Linked DNA regions of Homo sapiens: all the other regions are linked to region 1. The links are contacts of gene promoters, found by promoter capture Hi-C in blood cells and fetal thymus (Javierre and others, 2016). All regions are on one chromosome and are shown on one strand. Each heading gives the region's core, a stretch centred on a gene start or on the middle of the fragment in contact. The rest is flanking DNA. Distances are from core to core; before and after follow the strand shown. Region 1 holds the start of ARHGAP30 (Rho GTPase activating protein 30). Region 2 has its middle 28 kb from the start of LY9. Region 3 has its middle 16 kb from the start of CFAP126. Region 4 overlaps CD48 (CD48 molecule).

What was found. The method cuts DNA at HindIII sites, captures the fragments that hold promoters and counts their contacts. A CHiCAGO score of 5 or more calls a contact.
Region 2: a contact is called between a fragment that was not itself captured here and the fragment with the promoter of ARHGAP30 in region 1, in 1 of 17 cell types (erythroblasts). The highest score is 5.5, in erythroblasts.
Region 3: a contact is called between a fragment that was not itself captured here and the fragment with the promoter of ARHGAP30 in region 1, in 3 of 17 cell types (monocytes, naive B cells and M0 macrophages). The highest score is 6.1, in monocytes.
Region 4: a fragment that was not itself captured here is called in contact with the fragment with the promoter of ARHGAP30 in region 1 in 2 of 17 cell types (neutrophils and fetal thymus); the score reaches 5.9 in neutrophils.

Annotation. Positions count from the first base shown.
Region 1 is chr1:161,068,499-161,071,198 of GRCh38, forward strand. ARHGAP30 (Rho GTPase activating protein 30) reads right to left here and starts at 1,393. Exons shown (of 12, transcript NM_001025598.2): 1 at 1,030-1,393. The coding sequence starts at 1,126. It overlaps NECTIN4 (nectin cell adhesion molecule 4), which reads right to left. Exons shown (of 9, transcript NM_030916.3): 9 at 2,500-2,700. RefSeq lists an enhancer at 686-1,232 and a silencer at 1,129-1,278. The HindIII fragment of the contact is 15,879 bases long and covers 1-2,700 here.
Region 2 is chr1:160,767,106-160,769,805 of GRCh38, forward strand. No RefSeq gene overlaps it. Among named protein-coding and RNA genes, the nearest start is that of LY9, 28 kb to the right of the region's middle. RefSeq lists enhancers at 838-887, 918-1,367. The HindIII fragment of the contact is 361 bases long and covers 1,164-1,524 here.
Region 3 is chr1:161,382,416-161,385,115 of GRCh38, forward strand. No RefSeq gene overlaps it. Among named protein-coding and RNA genes, the nearest start is that of CFAP126, 16 kb to the left of the region's middle. The HindIII fragment of the contact is 1,796 bases long and covers 419-2,214 here.
Region 4 is chr1:160,677,770-160,680,469 of GRCh38, forward strand. It overlaps CD48 (CD48 molecule), which reads right to left. Exons shown (of 4, transcript NM_001778.4): 4 at 977-1,362. The coding sequence ends at 1,283. Among named protein-coding and RNA genes, the nearest start is that of SLAMF1, 32 kb to the left of the region's middle. The HindIII fragment of the contact is 1,041 bases long and covers 805-1,845 here.

The DNA.
Region 1 (2,700 bases), core at 143-2,642:
CCGCTGCAAGCACCACAGCCCAGAGCAGAGGAGGGGACAAAGAGGAAATGACAGATTGGGGTGGGGTGGAATGGGGTGGAGTGGGGAAAGAATTATGCCTTTCTCTAGGAGGAGCTTGAAGTGCCAAAAACAAGCTGGGCTGGGCAGCCAGGGTGCCTGGGTTCAATTTCAAATTGAATCAAGAAATGATTTTGAGTGGCTGCTCCATGCCAGGCCCCGTTGTGAACCTGATATTGTCCCTGGTCCTTCTGGCTTCAAAGCCCACTCTAAGGTAACCCAGGGAGGGAGCTGGGTGAGCTCCACAGACAGCTCCACACCCACCCTCCTTTGCACCCTCCACCTCCAGCTTCAAGCCAGGCCTCACACCCTCTCTTTCATTCTTCCCCATTTCAGCAGCTTCTCCCCTTGCCCCCCACTTTGAACCTGTTTCTCTTTTGCACAGGGACAACAAGAGAATCACAAAGACTAGGGGCAGAGGTTGTTTCCAGCCCGACATCATCCCCTGCGGCCCAGCAAGGCTGCAGTGGGAACAGAGCCCATGACCTTGTCCTTGGGTGTTCTCCAGCCAGGAAACCACCCGCCTCAAGGGCCATCTTGAGACCCTTCTGGGGCCATTTCCCTGTCTCCTTTCATTCAGACCTAAGGATAATCATTTCCCCTTCAGCCACTCCTCTCCTGACCCTGTCGCCTCACCCTCCCTCTCCTGTTCCCAGTCACCTGCCCGCTGTTTCATCCACTCCTCCTCGGTTTCCAGTCTCTCCATCCTCCCCCTCACTGCTACCTGGGTACTCACATTCTCATCCCCTCAGCCACCCCATCCCCAGAAAGTTACACAAGGGAGCCGCCCTGCCTTCTTCACTGAGCCACATTTCCTGTCTTGCCCACTTACAGTTCTCTTGAATGGTGACCCCAGGCCACTGCCCCTTCCCCAGGAGCACCGGAAACTGCTTCTGCCCTTCAGGCTGGATCGGGCTGCAGATGCCCAGTGCCTCCCCACCCACCCTGCAGAAGCTGAGCCGGCCTCCTTACCCTCCTGGCCTGAGTGCTGCAGGTGCTCCTGCAAGTCGCACCCAAAAACCCGCTCCTTTGCGCTGCCCTTCTTCTTTCCTTTCTGCCGAGACTTCATGGCCAGAGCCCCAGGGCACTGGCCCGGTCACCTCTATCCCCCAAGACCTGTGCCCTACCAGTCCCCCATGGGATCCCAGCCAGCTGCTGGGCTTGGCCCGGCCCCAGGGGGGCAGGGCTCCCAATTGGGGGTGGAGGGTGGCCTGGGCAACGGGCAGCAGCTCCTGCCCCTGGGGCCCCGGCCACACGGAAGTGGCTGTTGAAGAGGAAGCTACCAGGACCCTGGCAAGAAATTGTGTCCTGTGTCTCGTGGCCCAGCCTGGCACTCGCCCTCCTCGCCCCGCTCAGCTTTAGGGGGCAGGAAGCAGTGCAGCTCCTTAACCCACTTCCTGTTAGAGCATCTTTGCAACCACAGGGCCTAGGGTGGGGGAGGTAGCTGACATTCACATCCTCACCCTTTGCTTGGACTTCATTCATTGGTCAGGGGAGGTGATGTCAGAGCCCTGGGGTGGGGTGATGGCGTCTGTGGTGTGAGCAGGTGACCAACTCCCTTAGAGACCAGAATTCTTGGGTCCAAGGTAGAGACCTGGGGCTTGCCTGGGAGCAAGTTGACACAGGGCTGTAAAAAGCACACTCACAAGGGAGGATGCCTGGGTTCTGCCTCTGATGGATCTAGCACCTCAGTCAAATCGCATTACTTCACTGAGCCTCAGTTTCCAAACCTAGGAAAATGAAGGGAGCAGACTAGAGGACCTTTAAATCCTCCCACCTCTAAGAGTCTGTAAAACTCATTTAACTTGAGTTTCAGTTTCTTTACCTGTAAAAAAGGGTACACTGCTGCCTATTTCACATAGCTGTTGTTGAGTCTCCAGTACAATAAGGAATTCAGGCTGGGCGCAGTGGCTCACGCCTGTAATCCCAGCACTTTGGGAGGCTGAGGCGGGTGAATCACCTGAGGTCAGGAGTTCGAGACCAGCTTGGCCAACATGGTGAAACCCTGTCTCTACTAAAAATACAAAAACTAACTGAGCATGGTGACGGGTGCCTGTAATCCCAGCTATACGGGAGGCTGAGGTGAGAGAATCGCTTGAACCTGGGAGTCGGAGGTTGCAGTGAGCTGAGATAGTGCCACTGCACTCCAGCCTGGGTGACAAAGTGAGACTTCATCTCAAAAAAAAAAAAAAAAGGAATTTAAAACACTTTGCAAACTAAGGTACTGGCCATCCTCGAAAGGGTTCTTAGCTTCACTTTCCTACCAGGGGACTCTCAGAGATGGCCAAAGGCCTTGTGGAGGCCAATTCTTTCCCTTCCCTCCCAGCTACAGGCATCCTAAGTCTTCCCCTACTTGGGACTACAGGAAGGATGGTACCGAGACAGAGAGTATGTGACTCAGAGCTTACACAGTTCAAGGGGCAAGACAGGAGCCAGACAGAACAAGTTTTGTCTGTTTATTTAAAAACAGAATATCATTTTATGTACAAATATGCACATATTTACATAAAATGTACATGTTAGGATCTTAGATCTTCAGGCTCCACATTCGAAGTCCTAGGCTGGCTGGGGAACGAAGGATGGGAGCCTCTCCCTTAGGCCAGAAATCCAGCAGATTTCAGACTAAGAAGAGTTTGGGTACTA
Region 2 (2,700 bases), core at 94-2,593, 300 kb before region 1:
TAAAAAACCAGGGGTGAGCTGGCTTAGAGCACCAGGAAAACGAAAGGAAAGGATGTGTAATTAAAAAGGGGAAAAAGAAGAAAAAACCCATGCTACCCACAGTGGTTAGTCACTAATCTGCATTACTTTCACCACACTGAAAACTTGGAGAGGAGAGAGGAAGAGATACAGAGAGGGGAGGGGGGAGAGAGAGAGAGAGAGAGAGAGAGAGAGAGAGAAAGAGATAGAGAAAGAGAGAGAGAAAGAGAAAAGCAACTCTGGACGTCATGTATCTTCTCTTAGTCCTATGACCATGAGCAAAATGCTTAGTTTCTTGGAACCTCAGTTTTCTCTTCTATAAAATGTGAAAGATACTTTCTACCTCATAGGATTGTAGTGAGATTAAAGGTAAAGATAATCATACACGTAAAGTGTTCAGCAGAGTATAACATCACAGTCCTTCGACAGAAGTTACCTCATCATAAAGAGACTACTGGCTAATTATATAGATTCCATTCAGAACTGAGCCTCTAGAACTTTAAGTATAAAGAGTAACTGAAGACCTGAGAATAGCAGTTAATCATATCATTATAAAGTTGAGGCATATAATAAGAGGCAGCTGACCAGTGCTCACAGATCAAGCAAAGTAGCAAACACTCCCCTCTGTGTCATTCACTCATTCACGCCACCCTTACAGAAGGCTTGTCAGCTATAAGGCTCTGAGCTGTTCCTCCCCTCACTCCTCCGGTGCTCTTTCTAGCTCCTCCTCTTTGCTGTGTTCTCCATGTTCCCTCCCAGTCACTTGCATGCTGGGACCTGTGCATCTCCCCAGGAGCAGAAGCAAGCCTTGCTGAGTCAGGCTGCTAAACGGACTTTCTGGTTCTGGAGGTTCTGCAGGCCCAACTGTCCTGTGGGTACAACTCTGCCTGTCTCCTCCTGGTCAGTTAGGGACCTAGCACAATCCCTCTGATTGCTTGGCTCTGTGGAGAGCCTGTTCCCTGCTCCCATCTCACTTGGACCCAGTGAATTTCATTCATTTCCTGCTTTGCCTGGTCCCTGGATCTGTCTGATGCCTACTGGTCAAGCCCTGGTCTGACTTCCTACCCAGCCTCATACCCTCCAATCCAGGCAGCCTCCTCGCCACTATGACAACCGTAGGGTCTGGAAGGCCCCATGGGAATGTAAGCTTCATAAACGGAGGGAATTTTTGTCTGTTTCCTTCACTTTTCTCTTCCCAGACCTAAATCAGTCCCAAACATCTATTTAAAACTTACACAGAGAATTTTGGAGCTGGAAGAGACTCTAAGGATCATGTAGTCTAACTCCCTCATCTCAGAGAGAGAAAATGAAAGCAAGGTCACAATGCAGGCTGATGGTGACAGGATCCTCCAAGCCACACAGCAAGCCCTGGGTTAGCTCACTGCTGCCTCCTCTTGGCCCAGCTGGCAAACCATGCACATATTCAGCAATTTTACTAGTCTGTTTCTTGTTTTGTTGTCTGTTTTTCAATAAAATATAGAACCTTATGAAAATACCTGCACATTAAGCTTCATGAACACTGAGGAAAACACACAGTATTTCCTCTTCTTCTTCTTCTTCTTTTTTTTTTTTTTTTGAGATGGAGTCTCACTCTGTTGCCCAGGCAGGAGTGCAGTGGTGCAATCTTGGCTCACTGCAACCTTCATCTCCTAGGTTCAAGCAATTCTCCTCCCTTAGCCTCCTGAGTAGCTGAGGAGCTGGGATTACAGGTGTGCACCACTACACCCAGCTAAATTTTGTATTTTTAGTAGAAATGGGATTTCACCATGTTGGCCAGCTGGTCTCAAACTTCTGACCTCAGGGGATCCACCTGCCTCAGCCTCCCAAAGTGCTGGGATTACAGGCATGAGCCACCGCACCCGGCCTTACACACAGTATTTCTGTAGAGTAAAACTGTTGAATGGAATCTGCTTCTTAAAGTCTTCTAAGGGAAGAATATTGAGGTAACATAATCTGAATGAGAGTCTAAAAAGAATACAAGGAAAAGAATAGCTTAGAAGGCAAAATATAAGGCTGTATGAATAGAAAGGAAATAGATACCCCTGAATTTTGTGTCCATTTTTCAATTTCCTTATTGCTTCGAAATTTAAAATAAACATCAGCAGGGATGTGAACTCTCCCTAGCCAAACCCAGAACTGTGGGAAAGGCAAACAGCAATGGATAGGTTGCTTCTCTCACAGAGACTTTCATTCATTCATTCTGTTTTTGTTTTTGTTTTACATTCACTTACTCTGTAAGACAAAGTAGCAAACATAAGAGGCCATGTTTGCTCATTCAGCTGCCAGCAGAATTTCACAAAGCCCCTGACTCAGTGACTGAGGACAGCCCTTCGGAAGGATGCCCTGAAGATGATAAGAAGGATGGAGCCCAGGTTACCACATCTCTTACCTAAATCACTGCATTTTTAGAAAAGATAAATTCAATGATCCTGGCCTTTGTCTTTTTGCTGTACATAAGATAATGGTTGACAGGATTAATCATTATGCCTCTGTAATCTATAACTAGATGTACCCTTGCACCCAAACTTTGGTGAAATTTTGCTCTTACATAACTTTTGAGCACAGGCAGAATGACTGTCACCTTATGTATAAGCTGTAGGCTGAAACACTGCTTTGGAGCAGTCTAACAGAAACTCTCCGAAAGACTCTCCTGGGTTGCCAACCTCAGTAAGACTAAATAAA
Region 3 (2,700 bases), core at 67-2,566, 310 kb after region 1:
TAGGTATCAGAGTCTTGAGAAGGAGGACGTGGTAGAAGATACTGAGCAATGGGATAGTAAAGAGCTGGGGACAGAGTTAAGTTTTATAAGGAATTAGGGATATGAGAAGCTCTAAGAGCCAAGATTTGGGTTATTCAACTCAGAATGGGCAAGGAACCTCAGCTTCATGATGGTAAAAAATTCCACCACCTCTGCCCAGAAAAAGGTGATTCACATCCTGATATCACTGTGTACTCAGGGAAATAGCTCCCCACAAGGCATTGCATTAGGGAGAAACTATGGTGAGGAACAGCGATGAGCAGGACATGAAGAGTGATGGTCCTAAGCCAGATATGATGTCATGAGGGTGAACTCCAGGACCTCCTGTCCTTCAGGACGATCCCACAGTCTCACTAACCACTGAGGGCAGATGCAGAAAAGCTTTGCCTTCCCAGAGACTGATCAGGGGAAAAGGTACTGGCACAGCCTCTTCAGTTCCTGGCAGGGACGGGCAGAGACTAGCCCACATTGAAAGTGGCCCCTTGGGGGATTATGGGAGGATCCTTGTGTCCTGGGCTACCCTAGGTCTCATCTGATCTTGCACAGTGAAAGCTACTCATGGAAGAACTCCCTTAGCAGGGAAGCCGTTAGAGTGAAATCTTTCCTAACATTGACTCTGGTTTGTGGAAGTATATGACATTTTTCTCCATTCTCTGTAGCACTGTGGTCTTACCCTCTGAAGAGAATGTTTGTTGGTTGCCACCTCAGCATGTATCTTCCACCCCCTTTACAATTTTTGATAAGAACACAAAAAGAAATGAAGACTAAAAATGGCCCAGTTTCCTAAGATTGTTTTCTGATCCTATAAAATCTAATTCCTTAATGCAGCTCTGTGGTCCTGCTCTTTTGCATACCTAGCTTGAGAATGCTGTCTAGGAAGGGACTCATTTGAAGAATTATTATTTCTGCCAATTCCCACATCTTTCTTTCTCTTGCCTTCACTTCCTCCTTTAAGAGGTGAATTTTCAGACACATTAAAATTCTGGAGGAAAAAAGTGGGCTAATTAGGTGTGGTGACCCTTCCTGGATGCAAAATGTAGCATAATTCTCTAGGAATCCATCAACAAAGAAGATAGGCCATTGAGGAAGATATCTCTCTCCCCAAACATATTGGTTGCTAAAGGCCAGCCCCCAGACCATGATTCCTAAAGTAACAAAAGGTAATGTGAAAAATAATGGAATGTTATTTAGACTTGAAAAGGCAGGAAATTCTGACACATGCCAGAACATGGATGAAACTTGAGGACATTATGCTCAGTGAAATAAGCTAGTCATGAAAGGACAAATGCTGTATGATTCCACTGATATCAGGTACTTTGAGTAGCCAAATCATAGAACAGAAATTAGAAGAGTGGCTGCCAGGAGCTGAGGGGAGGGGTGATCGGGAGTTATTGCTTAATGAGTACAGAATTACAGTTTTGCAAAATGAAAAGAGTTCTGGAAATGGATAACGGTGATGGTTGCAAAACAATATGAATGTATTTAATACCACTGAGCTGTACACTCACAAATGGTTAGGATGATAAATTTTATGTTATATAATGTTACCACAATAAAAAAAATTGGGAAAAAAAGCAATATGACACTTACTGAGGACTGCCAAGGAGTAATGAAAGGAGATACCAGTGACTGATGCCAGGATGAGATCTTGTGTCTCTCTTTTTTTTTTTTTTTTTGAGACAGAGTTTTGCTCTGTTGCCCAGGCTGGAGTGCAGTGCCATGATCTCAGGTCACTGCAACCTCTGCCTCCTGGGTTCAAGCAATTCTCATGCCTCAACCTCCCGAGTAGCTGAGATTACAGGTGTGCACCACCATGCCCAGCTAATTTTTGTATTTTAGTAGAGATGGGGTTTCACCATGTTGGCCAGGCTGGTCTTGAACTCCTGACCTCAAGTGATCTGCCCGCCTCGACCTCCCAAACTACTCTAAATTTTACCCTCTCCCTTGTCTTTTGTCAGAAATCTTGCACAGAGTAATTTCCTAAAAAGTCTAGATCAAATTAAAAAACTAAAAAAAGAAGCTGGACTACAGTCTATCTAGATCAGTGTTGGTAGTCGCATCATCATTATAGTAGTGATTAAATTAAAATGTAACCAAAAAGGTTTAACTTATTTTTGCAACAACCAAATGTAAAACTAGAATAATAATAGCACATTTTGCATATGAAAAAATTGAAGCTTAGGAAAGTTAAGTAACTTCTCCAAGAACACACAGTAAGTTGTAGAACCAGTTACCAAACTCAGGTAGTCTGGCAAACCCCCACACCAGCCTGTTCCCAAAAGTCCAGACCCTGAAATCTGAAATCTCTAGCCTTCATCTAATTTGATTGGTTAAACAAATTGAATAAATTTATTTCCTACGGGAATGCTCAGATGTTTAATTTCTTTTCTTTTTTTTGAGACGGAGTTTTGCTCTTGTTACCCAGGCTGGAGTGCAGCCTTGTTACCCAGGCTGGAGTACTCGGCTCACCGCAACCTCCGCCTCCCAGGTTCAAGCGATTCTCCTGCCTCAGCCTCCCTAGTAGCTGGGATTACAGGCATGTGCCACCACACCCAGCTAATTTTGTATTTTTAGTAGAGACGGGGTTTCTCCATGTTGGTCAGGCTGGTCTCAAACTCCTGACCTCATGTGATCCACCCGCCTCGGCTTCCCAAAGTGCTG
Region 4 (2,700 bases), core at 75-2,574, 390 kb before region 1:
CTTGTGGAAAAGACAAAACCCTACCTTTCTTATCATGCTTGTGCAATGTAGGGCAGGCAGCTGCCTTCCAAACAATGGCTCCGATGCAGTTCCTTGCATCATATAGCCAGACTTCCGAAGTCCTTCACTCCTGCCACATCCATGCCGCCCACTTTCTATTGGACAGATTTCATCACATGGCTCCAGCTAAACACAAAAGTAGCTGGGAAAAAGAGTTTTTTCACTCACCCAGGGGAAAATGAGAAGGTTTGGCAAACACATAGCACTGTATCTGTCACCGAGGAGATGGGGTGAGGAGGGAAGGGCCACGAGGGAGATGGGGGAGGCTGGTCTGGTTTGAAAGGCAAGCAGTCTGTGGTGGGCAGTTTTCTGAAGGGGAAGTGCATTCTGTAGTGACCCTTTCAGCTCCAGGCACATGAGGAGACTTAGAGGAGGGGACATTAAGCAAAAATCCCAGGTGTTATGTCAGTGGTGGGCCTGGGGGCGCCTACCTGCATATAGTGGACAACTCTGGTGAGAACACTGTGTCGATCTGATGGTTTTTTTGGATCCAGTGAAACGACTAGGAGTTGAAGACTTGCCCACACAGTCAATGGAAAAGAGGAGAGAGAATTCAGCTCCCTATGCGAGGCTTGTGGGGCAGGAAGGCTTCTTATGAGATAGAGCTGCATCCTTCCTTCTGCGAGAGCAAGCCTGAACCTATGTTTGCAGCAGACTTAAGGAGAGTGGTCCTCAGAGGGGTCAGAGCAAGGCAAGCCACTGGGAAGGAGGCAAAGGCTTGGCAGGGGAGCTGGAGCCCCAGGAAGCTTAGCATGGATGTTGGAATAAGGGTCAGAAGTAGCACAAATTGGCTCCTCAGCTGTGTTGACACACAGGAGCCGGTGGCTCCAGGCTCTCCCCTCTGTGTCTCCAGATTCCAGTTTCTCCCAGCTGATGGAGCAGGCACTGTCTGACAGATTTGGGACAACTTCAGGAATTCAGTTAATTGACAATTATATCAAATGTTTATTTTAAAAAATAATAAAACATTCACATAATGTTGTCACAATTTTGGGTGGGAAAAAAGCATGTGTATCTCTATATCTCTGTGTACTAGAAAACAACAAAGGGATATAAAATTAAATAATAACCAGTATTTAAAAGTTAACTTGAAAATCCTCGTTGATAATTCAGCAGCATGCTTCTGGTCAGCCTATACAGTCTCTGTCCTGGTGAGGAGCATGATCACCAACAGGCAAGATCTTCTGGCCTTGAAGTTTCGCTTGAGTTAAAAGAGCTCATCTCAGGTAAGTAACAGGCCAAGAATGGTGGGCACCGTGACCACTAGCCAACTTGCAATCCATTCTACTCCAAAGGACCGGGCTGAAAGAGCAAGAAAACCCTATATGCTTAGGTATCTTTATCTTGACTAATGTATTGAGAAGGGGCAAGTGTACTGGACACTGGTGTGGGAGCTCACAGAGCAGGGAAATTAATTTCTTCCCTGAATCCCATCCTATTTGGCTGGGACATTCTTTTCCTCAATCTCCCCAAACATAAAGTATAAAAAATGCAGAAATTCCTTAAATATCACTGGCTTACCTGGGCCCTGTGCTCAAAGGTTACCTCGACATATCTGTGGCCTGGGAAAGCATTGCTCCCCTACTCTGGACATCAACGAGGTAGGGTAGATCTTCAGGTACAGACAGATGACCACATGATACAATGCACAGCTGACTTTAGAGAGAAAAGGACCACTTCCTTTCCTTGTTTCTCTACCCCACTAAGTATCTGCACCAACTAGGAAGAAGAAGGGAAGAGAAAGGAAGACAGAAAAGGAAAGGAAAAGAAAAAGGATGGAAGGAAAGCTTAGATGCTGGGGTGGGGAAGGGCTGAGCTGGAGAAAATAAAAAAAAGGAATGAGTGATACAGTAGGGAAAGGAGTTTGAGGGGGCTTTCTAGGATAATTTCGGTGACTAAAAAGTGACAGATGGGTTTACCCTTCCAAAAAAAATGGATTTATTATTGCTTTTATCCTCTCTTCGGATGAACAGTCACACCCATTTTATAGAGGACAGGGAATGTGCGTCTTCCTTTTTCTGGATCTCAGGATGTGATATTGATATGAGGGTGGTGTTGGAACCACCAGCCAAATTGTGTTCTCATGGTCAGATACCACACTGTCACAGTGGGTCTGTGGTGGCAGAAGAGCAAGGCATATCAGGAGAGGCTGGTAGAGACAGGGCCAATTAGTTAGGAAGAATAAGGAAGAGCATACACAGTCTCCGTAGTCCACATGTGGGAGTAGAGATAAAGAAATCAGTGCAGTTAAGGAGGGTAGACAGAGCCCAGGAAGACCACAAAACAGCAACGTTCTCAGAGGCCAGAATCCCTGATGACTGGGCATGACAGGGGTCACAGGTGAATGTGAGCACCTCAGGTCTGAGTTATTCTAGAAGAATGTGTACGCTAGGGCTCAGGGATCTGACTTCAGGATTGTGGAGGGTATCTGACTCTGGTATTTCCCAGAGTGCTGGAGATATTGATCCAAGTTTATTAAGGGTCCCCAAAACTCTAAGAGACTGCGTCTCATTTAGCTCCCGCTTACTAAGGACTTGTCAGCCACTGTGATAGGCAGTTACGTGTCTTGTCTCATTGAATCCTTAGCACGAGATAGGAACTGTTATTTTGTCCTTTATTTAGGAAGAACATGACTTGGGG